Regions from separate parts of the Homo sapiens genome. Here all the other regions are linked to region 4. The links are contacts of gene promoters, found by promoter capture Hi-C in human tissues and cell types (Jung and others, 2019). All regions are on one chromosome and are shown on one strand. The core of a region is centred on a gene start or on the middle of the fragment in contact, and the rest is flanking DNA. Distances in the headings are between cores, read along the strand shown. Region 1 overlaps ZNF816-ZNF321P (ZNF816-ZNF321P readthrough). Region 2 overlaps ZNF765-ZNF761 (ZNF765-ZNF761 readthrough). Region 3 overlaps ZNF525 (zinc finger protein 525). Region 4 holds the start of ZNF613 (zinc finger protein 613).

The links. Contacts are between HindIII fragments. The study calls those that stand out against the background at their distance.
Region 1: a fragment that was not itself captured here is called in contact with the fragment with the promoter of ZNF613 in region 4 in 1 of the 25 tissues and cell types used here (aorta).
Region 2: a fragment that was not itself captured here is called in contact with the fragment with the promoter of ZNF613 in region 4 in 2 of the 25 tissues and cell types used here (aorta and stomach).
Region 3: a fragment that was not itself captured here is called in contact with the fragment with the promoter of ZNF613 in region 4 in 2 of the 25 tissues and cell types used here (aorta and pancreas).

The regions. Positions count from the first base shown.
Region 1 is chr19:52,955,463-52,958,524 of GRCh38, forward strand. It overlaps ZNF816-ZNF321P (ZNF816-ZNF321P readthrough), which reads right to left. Exons shown (of 4, transcript NM_001202473.2): 2 at 565-642. The coding sequence starts at 627. ZNF816 (zinc finger protein 816) reads right to left here. Exons shown (of 4, transcript NM_001202457.3): 2 at 565-642. The coding sequence starts at 627. Among named protein-coding and RNA genes, the nearest start is that of ZNF816, 5.9 kb to the right of the region's middle. The HindIII fragment of the contact is 5,247 bases long and covers 1-3,062 here.
Region 2 is chr19:53,456,114-53,459,091 of GRCh38, forward strand. It overlaps ZNF765-ZNF761 (ZNF765-ZNF761 readthrough), which reads left to right. Exons shown (of 13, transcript NM_001350496.2): 13 at 1-2,148. The coding sequence ends at 635. It overlaps ZNF761 (zinc finger protein 761), which reads left to right. Exons shown (of 5, transcript NM_001289951.2): 5 at 1-2,148. The coding sequence ends at 635. Among named protein-coding and RNA genes, the nearest start is that of ZNF813, 10 kb to the right of the region's middle. The HindIII fragment of the contact is 5,248 bases long and covers 1-2,978 here.
Region 3 is chr19:53,379,388-53,382,755 of GRCh38, forward strand. ZNF525 (zinc finger protein 525) reads left to right here. Exons shown (of 4, transcript NM_001348156.2): 4 at 1,335-3,368. The coding sequence ends at 2,632. Among named protein-coding and RNA genes, the nearest start is that of ZNF765, 14 kb to the right of the region's middle. The HindIII fragment of the contact is 5,110 bases long and covers 1-3,368 here.
Region 4 is chr19:51,926,102-51,929,255 of GRCh38, forward strand. It overlaps ZNF613 (zinc finger protein 613), which reads left to right and starts at 1,371. Exons shown (of 6, transcript NM_001031721.4): 1 at 1,371-1,439. RefSeq lists enhancers at 391-1,154, 1,010-1,309. The HindIII fragment of the contact is 6,749 bases long and covers 1-3,154 here.

The sequences.
Region 1 (3,062 bases), core at 417-2,916, 1.0 Mb after region 4:
TGTAAACTAGAATTGTGCCATTGCACTCCAGACTGGGCCCCAGAGTGACACCGTGTCTCTTAAAACAAAAGTTTGGCGTCAGAGACATATTGACTCACTAGTGTAGCTTCAAATGCATTACAAAATCAGACACAAAATATCTCCCCTAGTTTGTCTCCTCTTCCAGAATTTACCAGATTAACCAGTGAACATTAATGTATGACTTTCATATACAGTTTCTCTGATCTGGTCCACAAAGAGCTAAACATGCATCCAGATGTGGCCCCTGAACAATCCCTGCTGCCCAACATCACTGACACCATGGGGCCCACACCCCATCTCCATCCATGTCTGGTGTGAGCCCTTCCCAGGACCATGCCCAGTGGAGCCTCTTCCCAAGCTCATGTCACTAGGTTATAGGAGATGGAATTTAAGTGAAGATGAGAGGGACTGAGAAAAGACACGGGTGAGTGCGAGCAAACGTGTGATGTAGAATGCTTCACACTCAGAGAAGATTGGCTACTACAATACCTGGCACTTCAGAAAGGAAAGAGACAGAAGAATCCACCAAGGAATATCACTTACCTGAGGAAGAGCCATCCCTGGCTCCTTTTCTTTGCTCTTCTTGGTGGCTTCCTCACGTAACATGAGTCTTTGGAAATCCTGTATGTTAAAAAAGCAAGAGATTTAATATTTAGAAACCATTGACTCCTTTCCTGTGACAAAACACACACACAGGGGAAACCTCACCCGAGAGAAAGATGGTCCTTTGCTACCCACTGCACCAGAGACCATGCAGAGATAAGAAAGTTCCACAGGAAGACCTACAAATGTAATTTTGACCCGTTTTCAGATCTTGCTCCCCTCCTGGAAAAGTCCACACACACGCTGCAGCAGGACACAGATCTTCAGGGCACAGATCTAGCCCTAACCAAACTCCATGCAGAGCACAGCCCCCTCACCTCCCTGTGGATCACAGACTGATCTCAGCTCTCAACATGGAGGAAACTTCCTTGATGTTTAATGCTGGACACAGATAAGAATCACCAGTGCCATTGTAAGTATTATTGAGTGTGGGTCCCATCCTATTATAATAGCAATCTGATAAAACAGCATGCCTGTAATCCCAGCATTTTGGGAGGCCGATGCAGCTGGATCCCTTCAGCTCTGGGGTTGGACACCAGCCTGAGCAACATGGCGAAAGCCCATCTCTACGAAGAACACAAAAATTAGTGTGGTGTGGTGGCACGCAGCTGTGGTCCCAGCTACTCTGGAGGCTGAGGTAGGAAGCAGACCACCACTTCTCCTGCTGCCTTCCTCCCTCCCCCTTGCCTAGTTTATAAGACAGGAGGAAAGGAAGAAAGCAAAAAGTTAGAAAGAAACAGAAGTAAGATAAATAGCCAGACGACCTTGGTGCTACCACCTGGCCCCGGTGGTTAAAAATAATAATAATACCAACCCCTGACCTAAACTACTTATGTTATCTGTAAATTCTAGACATTGTATGAAGAAGCATTGCAAAAGTTTCTGTTCTGTTAGCTGATGCACGTAGTGTCAAGTCACATTCCCCACACTTGCTTGATCTATCATGACCCTTTCACGTGGATGCCTTAGAGCTGTAAGCCCTTAAAAGGGCCAGGAATTTCTTTTTCAGGGAGCTCAGTTCTTGAGACACGAGTCCTCTGATGCGCTGGGCCGAATAAAGCCACTTCCTTCTTTAATCCGTTGTCTGAGAGGTACTGTCTGCGGCTCGTCATGCTACATTTCTTGGTTCCCTGACTTGGAAGCGAGGTAATTAACAGAAGGTCGAGGCAACCCCTTAGGTGACTTAGGCCTGCCCTTTGGAGCATCCCTGCTGGGTACTCCAGCCAGCTTGGGCGACATGGATTCTGAGAGTGCTACCAGGTAGGCATGTGCCCCAGAAAGATACTTAGCCTGGCCATCCGAACTTGCAGTGTAACCAGTGTGCTTACTGTAAAGAAATAGGATATTAGAAGGACAAGTGCCCTCAGCTAAAAGGAAAACAAGGTGGCTCAGAGCAGGAGGCCCCAGAAGGAGCCCTGTTCAATATAGCAGAAGAGTTACTGAACTGAGGAGGACCAGGCTCAACTGCCCCCAAGGAGCCCATGGTCAAGATGACAGTTAGGGGCAAAGACATTGATTTTCGTATTGATACCAGTGCTGAACATTCAGTAGTAACCGCCCCGGTTGCCCCCCTTTCCAAAAAGACTATTGTTATAATCGGAGCCATGGGAGTTTTATCAAAGCAAGCTTTCTGTTGCCCCAGACTTGTACTGTAGGAAGACATAAAGTGATTCACCAGTTCTTGTACATGCCTGACTTGAAAGGACTTGAAAGGACTTGCTTAGCGAGCTGAGAGCCACCGTCTCTTCTACAGAGCACAGCTCTTTACAGCTAAGGTTACCCAGAACGGGAGTCATTATGGCCCTTACAGTCCCCCAGGAAGAGGAATGGAGACTTCTTTTAACTGAGCCAGGCCAAGAGATAAGACCAACTCTGGCTAAGCGGTGGCCAAGGGTGTAGACAGAAGACAACCCTCCAGGGATGGCAGTTAACCAAGCCCTGGTACTTATAGAAGTTAAGCGTAGGGCCCAGCCAGTCAGGCAAAAACAGTACCTGGTCCCCAGAGAAGATCTTGAAAGTATCCAGGTCCATCTCAAGAGCCTGAGAGCCTTTAGAATTACAGTCCCTTGTCAGTCTCCCTGGAACACTCCCCTCCTGCCTGTTCCCACGCCAGGGACCAATGACTACAGGCCGGTACAGGACTTGCACTTAGTCAATCAAGCTACAGTGACTTTACATCCAACAGTACCTAACCCGTACACGTTAAGGTTGCTGCCAGCTGAGGACAGCTGGTTCTCTGGCTTAGACCTGAAAGACACTTTCTTTAGCATTAGACTAGCCCCTCAGAGCCAGAAGCTGTTTGCCTTTCAGTAGGAAGATCTGGGATCAGGTGTCACTGCTCAGTACTCTTGGACCCGGCTTCTGCAAGGGTTCAAGAACTCCCCCACCATCTTCAGGGAAGCACTGGCTCGGGACCTCCAGAAGTTTCCCACCAGAGA
Region 2 (2,978 bases), core at 42-2,541, 1.5 Mb after region 4:
CCCTTACCTGCCATCGTAGACTTCATTCTGGAGAGAAACCTTACAAGTGTAAGGAGTGTGGCAAGACCTTCAATCAGCAGTTAACCCTTAAACGCCATCGTAGACTTCATAGTGGAGAGAACCCTTACAAATGTGAAGATAGTGACAAAGCTTACAGTTTCAAATCAAACCTTGAAATACATCAGAAAATTCATACTGAAGAGAATCCTTACAAGTGTAATGAGTGTGGCAAGACCTTCAGTCGGACGTCATCCCTTACATGCCATCGTAGACTTCATACCGGAGAGAAACCTTACAAATGTGAAGAATGTGACAAAGCTTTCCGTGTGAAATCAAACCTTGAAGGACATAGGAGAATTCATACTGGAGAGAAACCTTACAAGTGTAATGAGTGTGGCAAGACCTTTAGTCGGAAGTCATATTTTATATGCCATCATAGACTTCATACTGGAGAGAAACCTTATAAGTGTAATGAGTGTGGCAAGAACTTTAGTCAGAAGTCATCCCTTATATGCCACCATAGACTTCATACTGGAGAGAAACCTTACAAGTGTAATGAGTGTGGCAAGACCTTTAGTCAGAAGTCAAACCTTACATGCCATCGTAGACTTCATACTGGAGAAAAACAAGTGTAATGAATGTGGTGAGGTTTTTAATCAACAAGCACACCTTGCAGGTCATCATAGAATTCATACTGGGGAGAAACCTTAGAAATGTGAAGCATGTGATAAAGTTTACAGTGGCAAATCAAGCCTCAGAAGACAGGAGAATTCATACTGGAGAGAAAGCTTATAAATGTGAAGAATGTCACAAAGTTTACAGTCGCACATCAAACCGTGAAAGACAGGAGAATTCATACTGGAGAGAAACCATAAAAATGTAAGAGTTTGTGACAAGGCTTTTGGGCATGATTCGCACCTGGCACAACATGCTAGAATTCACACTGGAGAGAAACCTTACCAGTGTAATGAGTGTGGCAAAGCCTTTAGTAGGCAGTCAACACTTGTTTACCGTCAGGCAATCCATGGTGTAGGGAAACTTTACTAAGGTAATGATTGTCACAAAGTCTTCAGTAATGCTACAACCATTGTGAATCACTGGAGAATCCATAAGGAAGAGAGATCATACTAGGGTAATAAATGTGGCAGATTTTTCAGACATTGTTCATACCTTGCAGTTCATCGGTGAACTCAACGCTGGAGAGAAACCTTACAAATGTCATGACTGTGGCAAGGTCTTCAGTCAAGCTTCATCCTATGCAAAACATAGGAGAATTCATACAGGAGAGAAACCTCACATGTGTGATGATAGTGGCAAAGCCTTCACTTCACACCTCATGAGACATCAGAGAATGCATACTGGACAGAAATCTTACAAATGTCATCAATGTGCCAAGGTCTTCAGTCTGAGTTCACTCCTTGCAGAATATGAGAAAATTCATTTTGGAGGTAGTTGGTCCATATGCAATGAGTAGAGCAAACCATCAAGCATTAATTGACATTAGGGTCAATTCAGCATTGACTTGAGTTTGTATTGACTTAACATTGAGTTCAAGCATTAATTGACATTAGTGTTTATGTTAAGAGGATTGGGCCAGGCACATCAGCTTACACCTGTAATCTGAGCGCTTTGGGAGGCCAAGGTGGGTAGATCACTTGAGGTCAGGAGTTTGAGATCAGCCTGGCCAACAGACGTGAGCCATTTTCCCAGCCTGTTTTTTGTTTCTTTAAAAAAACTGATAGGGATTTTTATGGATATCATGTTGAATCTAAATCACATTGGGTTATTATATAATCATTTCACAATATTAATTTTTCCAAGCTATCAATATGGGTTGTAGCTCAATGTTTTTAATCATTTTGATCAATGTTTGTAGATTTCAAGGTACAAACTTCTGACCTTTGTACGTTTATTTCTAAGTATTTCTTTAAGTTCTCCAGCAAATGGAAGTGTTTTAAAATTTTCTTTTAAAATTGTTTATTGTTAAAGTATGGAAATTCAACTAATTTTTGGTGCTGATACTGTATTGTGCAAATCCACTGACTATGTTACTTAGTTCCAGTAGTATTTTGGTTGGCTCTTTGTGATTTTCTACACAGAAGATTATGTCATCTACAAACAAATATAATTTTACTTCTTACTTTCTGATTTGGATGAGTTTTATTTCCTCTGCTATTTCATTGCTCTGGCTGGGACAGCCAGTATTGATTGAATAGAAGGGGTGAGAGCATTCTTGCATCATGTGAGAGCCTCCAGGAAAGGCATTACATTTTCCCTGCTTGACTGTTTACTCATTGGTCATTTCATGGACGGTCTTTCTATTGTTGAGGTAAATTTCCTTTTCTGTCTATTTTGTTTAGGATTTCTATGATGACTGGATTTTGAATTTTGTGAAATGCTTTTTCTCTATTAAGATGATGTGGTTTTCATCTTTTGTTCTGTTCAAGTGGTATATCACATTGATTTGCTTGAATATGTTGAACCATCCTTGCATCCCAGAAATAAGTGGCACTTGAATATCTACATTTTTTTAATGTCCTCTTGAATACAGTTTTCTAGTACAATGGATCTTGAAGAAGTTCATGGAAAAATACCTATTATGAGAAAATTTGCATGAATTTTAGTTTTTGCAACAAAACACTGGTACAAGTCTGTTATGTCTGAACAGGCTGTAGTTTAAGGCACTCAGAAGGATAAGACATGAGTTTGAAAAGAGACTCTATCAAAGCAATATAAATTCTGCTAAAATTGAAACAAGAAGAAACATCAAATTTACGATGAGATCAGATGCAGTGTCTCAGGTCTATAATCCCAGCACTTTCAGAGGCCATGACAGGTGGGTCACATGAGCCCAGGTATTCAAGACGAGCCTGGGCAACATGGTGAAACCCCCTTGTCTACAAAAAATACAAAAATTAGCTGGGCATGGTGGCATCTGACTGCAGGGCCAGCTACTGTGGAGTCTGTGGTGGAGGATG
Region 3 (3,368 bases), core at 247-2,746, 1.5 Mb after region 4:
TTACAGGCATGAGCCACTGCACCCGGCTGTTAGTGAATTCTTATTCATTATAATGCTGCATATTTTTTTGACCTCATACATCAGAAGGTAGTGATCTTAACATGTATTTCAGTTCTTATATTGTGTGCTGGTGGTAAGTAGAAGTTGTGCTTTTTTCTTAACAGGGAATTGTTTAGAATTCTGCAGTTTGTATAAATGTACTTATGATTTGCTTGCTGGTTTTATGCGTTACAGTTATTTTACCAATTCATTTTTATGATTTTACATAAAGCTTTTCGGTATGTGGTATGCAATATAACTGACACAGTTTACTAGTTAATGTCACAAAGTGCCAGCGGGTGCTGTGGCTCACGCCTGCAATCCCAGGACTTTGGGAGGCTGAGGCGGGTGGATCACTTGAGGTCAAAAGTTCAAGGCCAGCCTGGCCAATATGATGTAACCCTATCTCTACTAAAAATACAAAAATTAGCCAAGCATGCTGGCATGTGCCTGTAATCCCATGTACTCAGGAGGCTGAGGCAGGAGAATGGCTTGAACCCAAAAGGTGGAGGTTGCAGTGAGCTGAGATCAGGCCATTGCCCTCCAGCCTGTTGTGACACAGTGAAACATTGTCTCAAAAATACAAAAATAAAAAAAAAATTTTAAATGTTACAATATGCCTTTTCTGCATGGATATAGGTAATTTTATGACAGTTATTCAGAAAAATATTTTTTTTTTTTTGAGATGGAGTCTCACTTTGTCATCCAGGCTGAAGTACAGTGGTGCGATCTCGGCTCACTGCAACCTCTGCCTCTTGGGTTCAAGCAATTCTTGTACCTCACCCTTGCGAGTAGCTGGGAGTACAGACGTGCACCACCATGCCTTGCTAAATTTTGTAAACTTTTCTTATCTTCTCAGTGCTATGATTATTTAACAATACAGAATTTCCATTGATTTTGGTTATCCTTACATGAGCTTGCTGTGGATTATTTACCAGTATATTATATTGTGTGGTCCTTTAGTATTTATTTGTATACAGTAAGTATGCTGTAAATATGAAGAATATATACTTTTCATTGATGTGACAGTGATATGTCTTTTGCAAACTGTTAGACACTTTAGGGTCACAGTGGAAAAATACTCCTTATTTTAGGCTTACACATGTTTGTGCCCTTCAGTGTTTTGTCATGATATTGGAAATAAGCTTTCATAATAATAATTTGAAGCACATGTAATCGCCCTTTATTTATTAAAGAATCTTACGATTTTGTGTTCCTAAACTTTGAAGATCATGTTTGGGAAGTTTAAAATCAGTATTGTCTTTTGTGTACCTATTAGTGTTTATATTTTGTAGGTATCTCTTCCAAATGCACAATGAAGGAGTTCTCATCAACAGCACAAGGCAATACAGAAGTGATCCACACAGGGACATTGCAAAGACATGAACGTCATCACATTGGAGATTTTTCCTTCCAGGAAATTGAGAAAGATATTCATAACTTTGAGTTTCAGTGGCAAGAAGATGAAAGAAATGGCCATGAAGCACCCATGACAAAAATCAAAAAATTGATGGGTAGTACAGAGCAATATGATCACAGGCATGCTGGAAACAAGCCTATTAAATATCAGCTTGGATCAAGCTTTCATTCACATCTGTCTGAACTCCACATATTTCAGCCCAAAGGGAAAATTAATAATCAAGTGGAGAAGTCTATCAACGATGCTTCCTCGGTTTCAACAGCCCAAAGAATTTCTTGTAGGCCCAAAACCCATATATCTAATAACTATGGGGATAATTTTCTGAATTATTCATTACTCACACAAAGACAGGAAGTACGCATGAGAGAAAAATCTTTCCAATGTATTGAGAGTGGCAAAGCCTTTAATTATAGCTCACTCTTAAGGAAACATCAGATTATTCATCTAGGAGAGAAACAATATAAATGTGATGTATGTGACAAGGTCTTTATTCGGAAGCGATACCTTGCACGCCATCGTAGATGTCACACTGGTGAGAAACCTTACAAGTGTAATGAGTGTGGCAAGTCCTTCAGTCAGATGTCATCCCTTACATATCATCATCGACTTCATACTGGAGAGAAACCTTACAAATGTGAAGAATGTGACAAAGCTTTCAGACACAATTCAGCCCTTCAAAGACATAGGAGAATTCATACTGGAGAGAAACCACATAAGTGTAATGAGTGTGGCAAGACCTTTAGTCAGAAGTCATACCTTGCATGCCATCGTAGCATTCATACTGGAAAGAAACCTTACGAATGTGAAGAATGTGACAAAGCTTTCAGTTTCAAATCAAACCTTGAAAGTCATAGGATAACTCATACTGGAGAGAAACCATACAAGTGTAATGATTGTGGCAAGACCTTCAGTCATATGTCAACCCTTACATGCCATCGTAGACTTCATACTGGAGAGAAACCTTACAAGTGTGAAGAATGTGATGAAGCTTTCCGTTTCAAATCAAGTCTTGAAAGACATAGGAGAATTCATAATGGAGAGAAACTGTACAAATGTAATGAGTGTGGCAAGACCTTCAGTCAGGAGTTATCCCTTACCTGCCATTGTAGACTTCATAGTGGAGAGAAACCTTGCAAGTGTGGAGAATGTGACAAGGCTTACAGTTTCAAATAAAATCTTGAAATACGTCAGAAAATTCATACTGGAGAGAAATGTTATAAGTGTAATGATTGTGGCAAGATCTTCAGTCATACGTCATCCATTGTATACCATCATAAATTTCATAGTGGAGAGAAACCTTACAAATGTGAAGAATGTGATGAAGCTTTCAGTTTCAAATCAAACCTTGAAAGACATAGGAGAATTCACACTGGTGAGAAACCTTACAGGTGTAATAGGTGTGGCAAGACCTTCAGTCATACATCATCCCTTACATGCCATCATAGACTTCATACTGGAGAGAAACCTTACAAATGTGAAGAATGTGATGAAACTTTCAGATACAAATCAAATCTTGAAAGACATAGGAGAATTCATAATGGAGAGAAACCGTACAAGTGTAATGAGTGTGGCAAGACCTTCAGTCAGAAGTCATGCCTTACACGCCATCATAGACTTCATACTGGAAATAAATCTTATAAGTGTAATGAGTGTGGCAAGACCTTCAGTAAGGAGTTAACACATGCCATCATAGACGTCATACTGGAGAGAAACCTTAGAAGTGCAATGAGTGTGGCAAAACCTTTCATAGGCAGTCAGCGCTTATTTACCATCAAGCAATCCATGGCAGAGGGAAACTTTACAAATGTAATGATTGTCACCACGTCTTCAGTAATGCTACAACTATTGCAAATCATTGGAGAATCCATAATAAAGAGAGACCTTACAAGTGTGATAAATGTGACAAATT
Region 4 (3,154 bases), core at 121-2,620:
ATAAGTATCTAGGAGTGGAATTCCTGAGTCATAAGATTCTTGCTTTTATTTTGCAATTCTCCTAAGGAGTCATATAGTTCTGTAAAGCTTTTCACTCTTCACAGATTTGATATTTTAAGTAACACGGTATGTTTCTGAAATGGAGTTTGCATTTTGGGGCATTTTCTATAGATGTATCATGAAGGACACGTGAAAACTCTGTTATAAATATAAACACTCCACTGCATGCAGGAATTTCCTTCTCATTCTTCCAATGGAATTGTCTTAATTTAGGTTGGATCAGAATTAGAATTTACGTTATGATGACTATGTAAATAATATTTATAGGTCAGTCAGGTAGTATCCTATGATTACTTTTCTTGCACAACTTTTTTTTTTCTTTTTTCTTTTTTTCCTCATGAAGGGGTTGCCAAGGCTGTGTAGTGCAGTGGCTATTGATAGGTGCGATCATAGCTCACTGCAGCCTGGAACTCCTGGGCTCAAGCGATCTTCCTGCCTTGGTCTCCCCAGTAGCTGGGACTACACGTGTGCGCCATCGCGCCCGGGCTTGCACAACTTTTCATTCTCCCAGAGTCGCCTTATTTATTCCTTCCAGAATTTTAGGCACTTGGTTCTCCGAAAGCCCCGACGTTAAGATTGACTCCACCTACAGCAGAGGGAAGGCCCTTCTTCTCTCTTAAGGAAAATTCCCGCCTCCCGCATTGGATTCCTTTTCCGGTTGGCTGGTGGCTGCTCTCTTTACCTGCACTGGGCGGTGACCGTGTCCCTCAAATGTAAATGAGGTTCCAGGGGTCGCTGTTTTTTCACTTTCCGTTGACGGGGTGAACAATATCCTCGTACCTCGATTGCCTCTCCACACCCTTTTGGTCCTCAAAAATCTTCCTCTTGTCCTCCACATGTAGCTAGATGCGTTTTCGCGGTATATGACTCAGGGTGCGATTGCTCTTTTTCCTCTGTGGAGAAAGCGTTTTCACTTGTACGGACACCTAAGTGTTAAGATGGCCGCGCCCATTGTGTCATTCCCGTCATTCTTTGTGCAAAGCGGATGACTTTTCTCCCCAGCCCGCTAAGGTGCACGTAGCCATACCATGTTTGTCTTGGCTAAGCTCGACCCTCTGAAAATAAATGAAACTTGGGCGCAGGATTTAGGTGCCAAAATATGGAGTTCTTCACCGTCCCGCGCTATCCCTGAATACTTGGGCAGAAAAGGTCCACTTTACCTTCCGTACGTGCAGGATTCAAAGATGGCTGCCTCCAGTATCCGTGACGAGAGGACGCGAACTTACTACCTCCCAGTCGTCCGTGCTCCGTACACCTGCAACTTCAGACCTTCCTCGGCCGCCGTAGGCCGGCTTGGAGGCTGGGGGAGGGCCCAGAAGTGGAATAATTCAGGAAAGTGCAGGTTCTGGGAAGTCTCGGTGGGTTCCCCGCAAAATCAGGTCTGTGTGTGGGTCTGTCTGTCAGGATGAGGGGAGGAGGGTGTCTGTGGGCGTCCGTTTAGTGCGGAGCCGTGGAGTTTGTGGGGGAAGCGGGAGCAAGTGGGAGTCGGGGTATTGGGGTTGGGGCGTCTCCGGAGTCAGCCCTGAGGGATCCCAGTGGTCGGTGGTCAGAGTCTGTCCAGAGCAACACTTGGAAGTCCGTGATCAGGGTTTGGTGCCTTTGCGGGTCACTCTGTAGGGCTCGGTGATTGAGGACTGGAGTGAGGAGTGGTTTTTGTCAAGGAAAACTGTGTCTGCTTCGGATTCGGGGTTTTATTTTTTATTTTTGAGACAGGGTCTCGCTCTGTCACACAGGCTTGAGTGCAGTGGCGCAATCGTGGCTCACTGCAGCCTCCATCTCCCGGGGCTCAGGTGATTTTCCCACCTCAGCTTTCCCGAGTAGCTGGGACTACAGGTGAGCGCCACCACGCTATCTATCTATCTATCTATCTATCTAATCTGTCTAATCTAATCTATCTATCTATCTATCTATCTATCTAATTTATCTATCTAATCTATCTGTTTATTGCAGAGACGGGGGTCTCACTATGTTGCCCAGGCTGGTCTCCAACTCCTGGCCTCAAACGATCCTCTCACCTTGGCCTCCCAAAGTGCTGGGATTACGGGCGTGAGCCTTCGCTCCAGGCTGTAATCAGGATTTAATATGCGACTCAGTGAGGAGGAGCCCGGGTTCATGTGAACCTAGGTGTGTGGTCCAGGTTTTTGGATTAATCTAAGGGGGTGTGACCATGTTAGGGAGGTCTAGATGTGACAGTCGTGGAGAAGCTTGTGAAGGCTGAAGCCTTGGCAGCCAGGGCATCCTGATTGGTGTGTGTGTTCAGGTCCAACGGTACATTCCCTCTCAGTCCCTTTTAAGTTTCTCTGCAAGGACTGGTTTACAAATCTCATTTGACTTCTCACATCTCTCCTTTCTCTCATCCTGGTAAATAGGAAAGCTTTGGGGAAGATCAAAGATTAATCAAATCTAAAATGGTAAGGTGGCCTGGCGCGGTGGCTCACGCCTATATTCCCAGCATTTGGGAGGCCAAAGTGGGCGAATTGCTCGAGCCTAGAAGTTGGAGATCAGCCTGAACAACATAGCCTGTCTCTCCAAAAAATACAAATATTAACTGGGTGTGGTAACACACGCCTGTAGTCTCAGCTACTCGGGAGGCTGAGGTGGGACGATCACGTGACCCCGGGAGTTCTAGGCTGCAGTGAACTATGATTGAGCACTGCACTCCAGCCTGGGCAACAGAGTGAGACCCTGCCTCAAAAAAAAAAAAAAAAGAAAAGAAAAGGAGAAAAGAAAAAGGAAAAAACAAAACGAAGAAAATGATAAGGTTTCTATTAAAGATTTTCGTTCTTCTTCCTCAGGTTTACTGTGTGAATGTGTGTATACACACACGTAAATATTTTCTTTCAGGTTCTGACACAAGTAAAACATCTCTCTTATCCCAAAATGTGTTCCCCAGTAATGACTTTTGATAAGATTTTTGTATATTTCAATTTCAGTTTTCTATGCTTGATTTTCACAATGCAGATAAGCTGCTGAAACATTGGTATAATTTGCCGTATTTAATTTTACATTATGAACGTTCTTATAGTAAACATATCATCCATGTTTTTGTTTAAAAATTTTTTTTTAAGATTTCTGTAATAGTATACCATCAAGA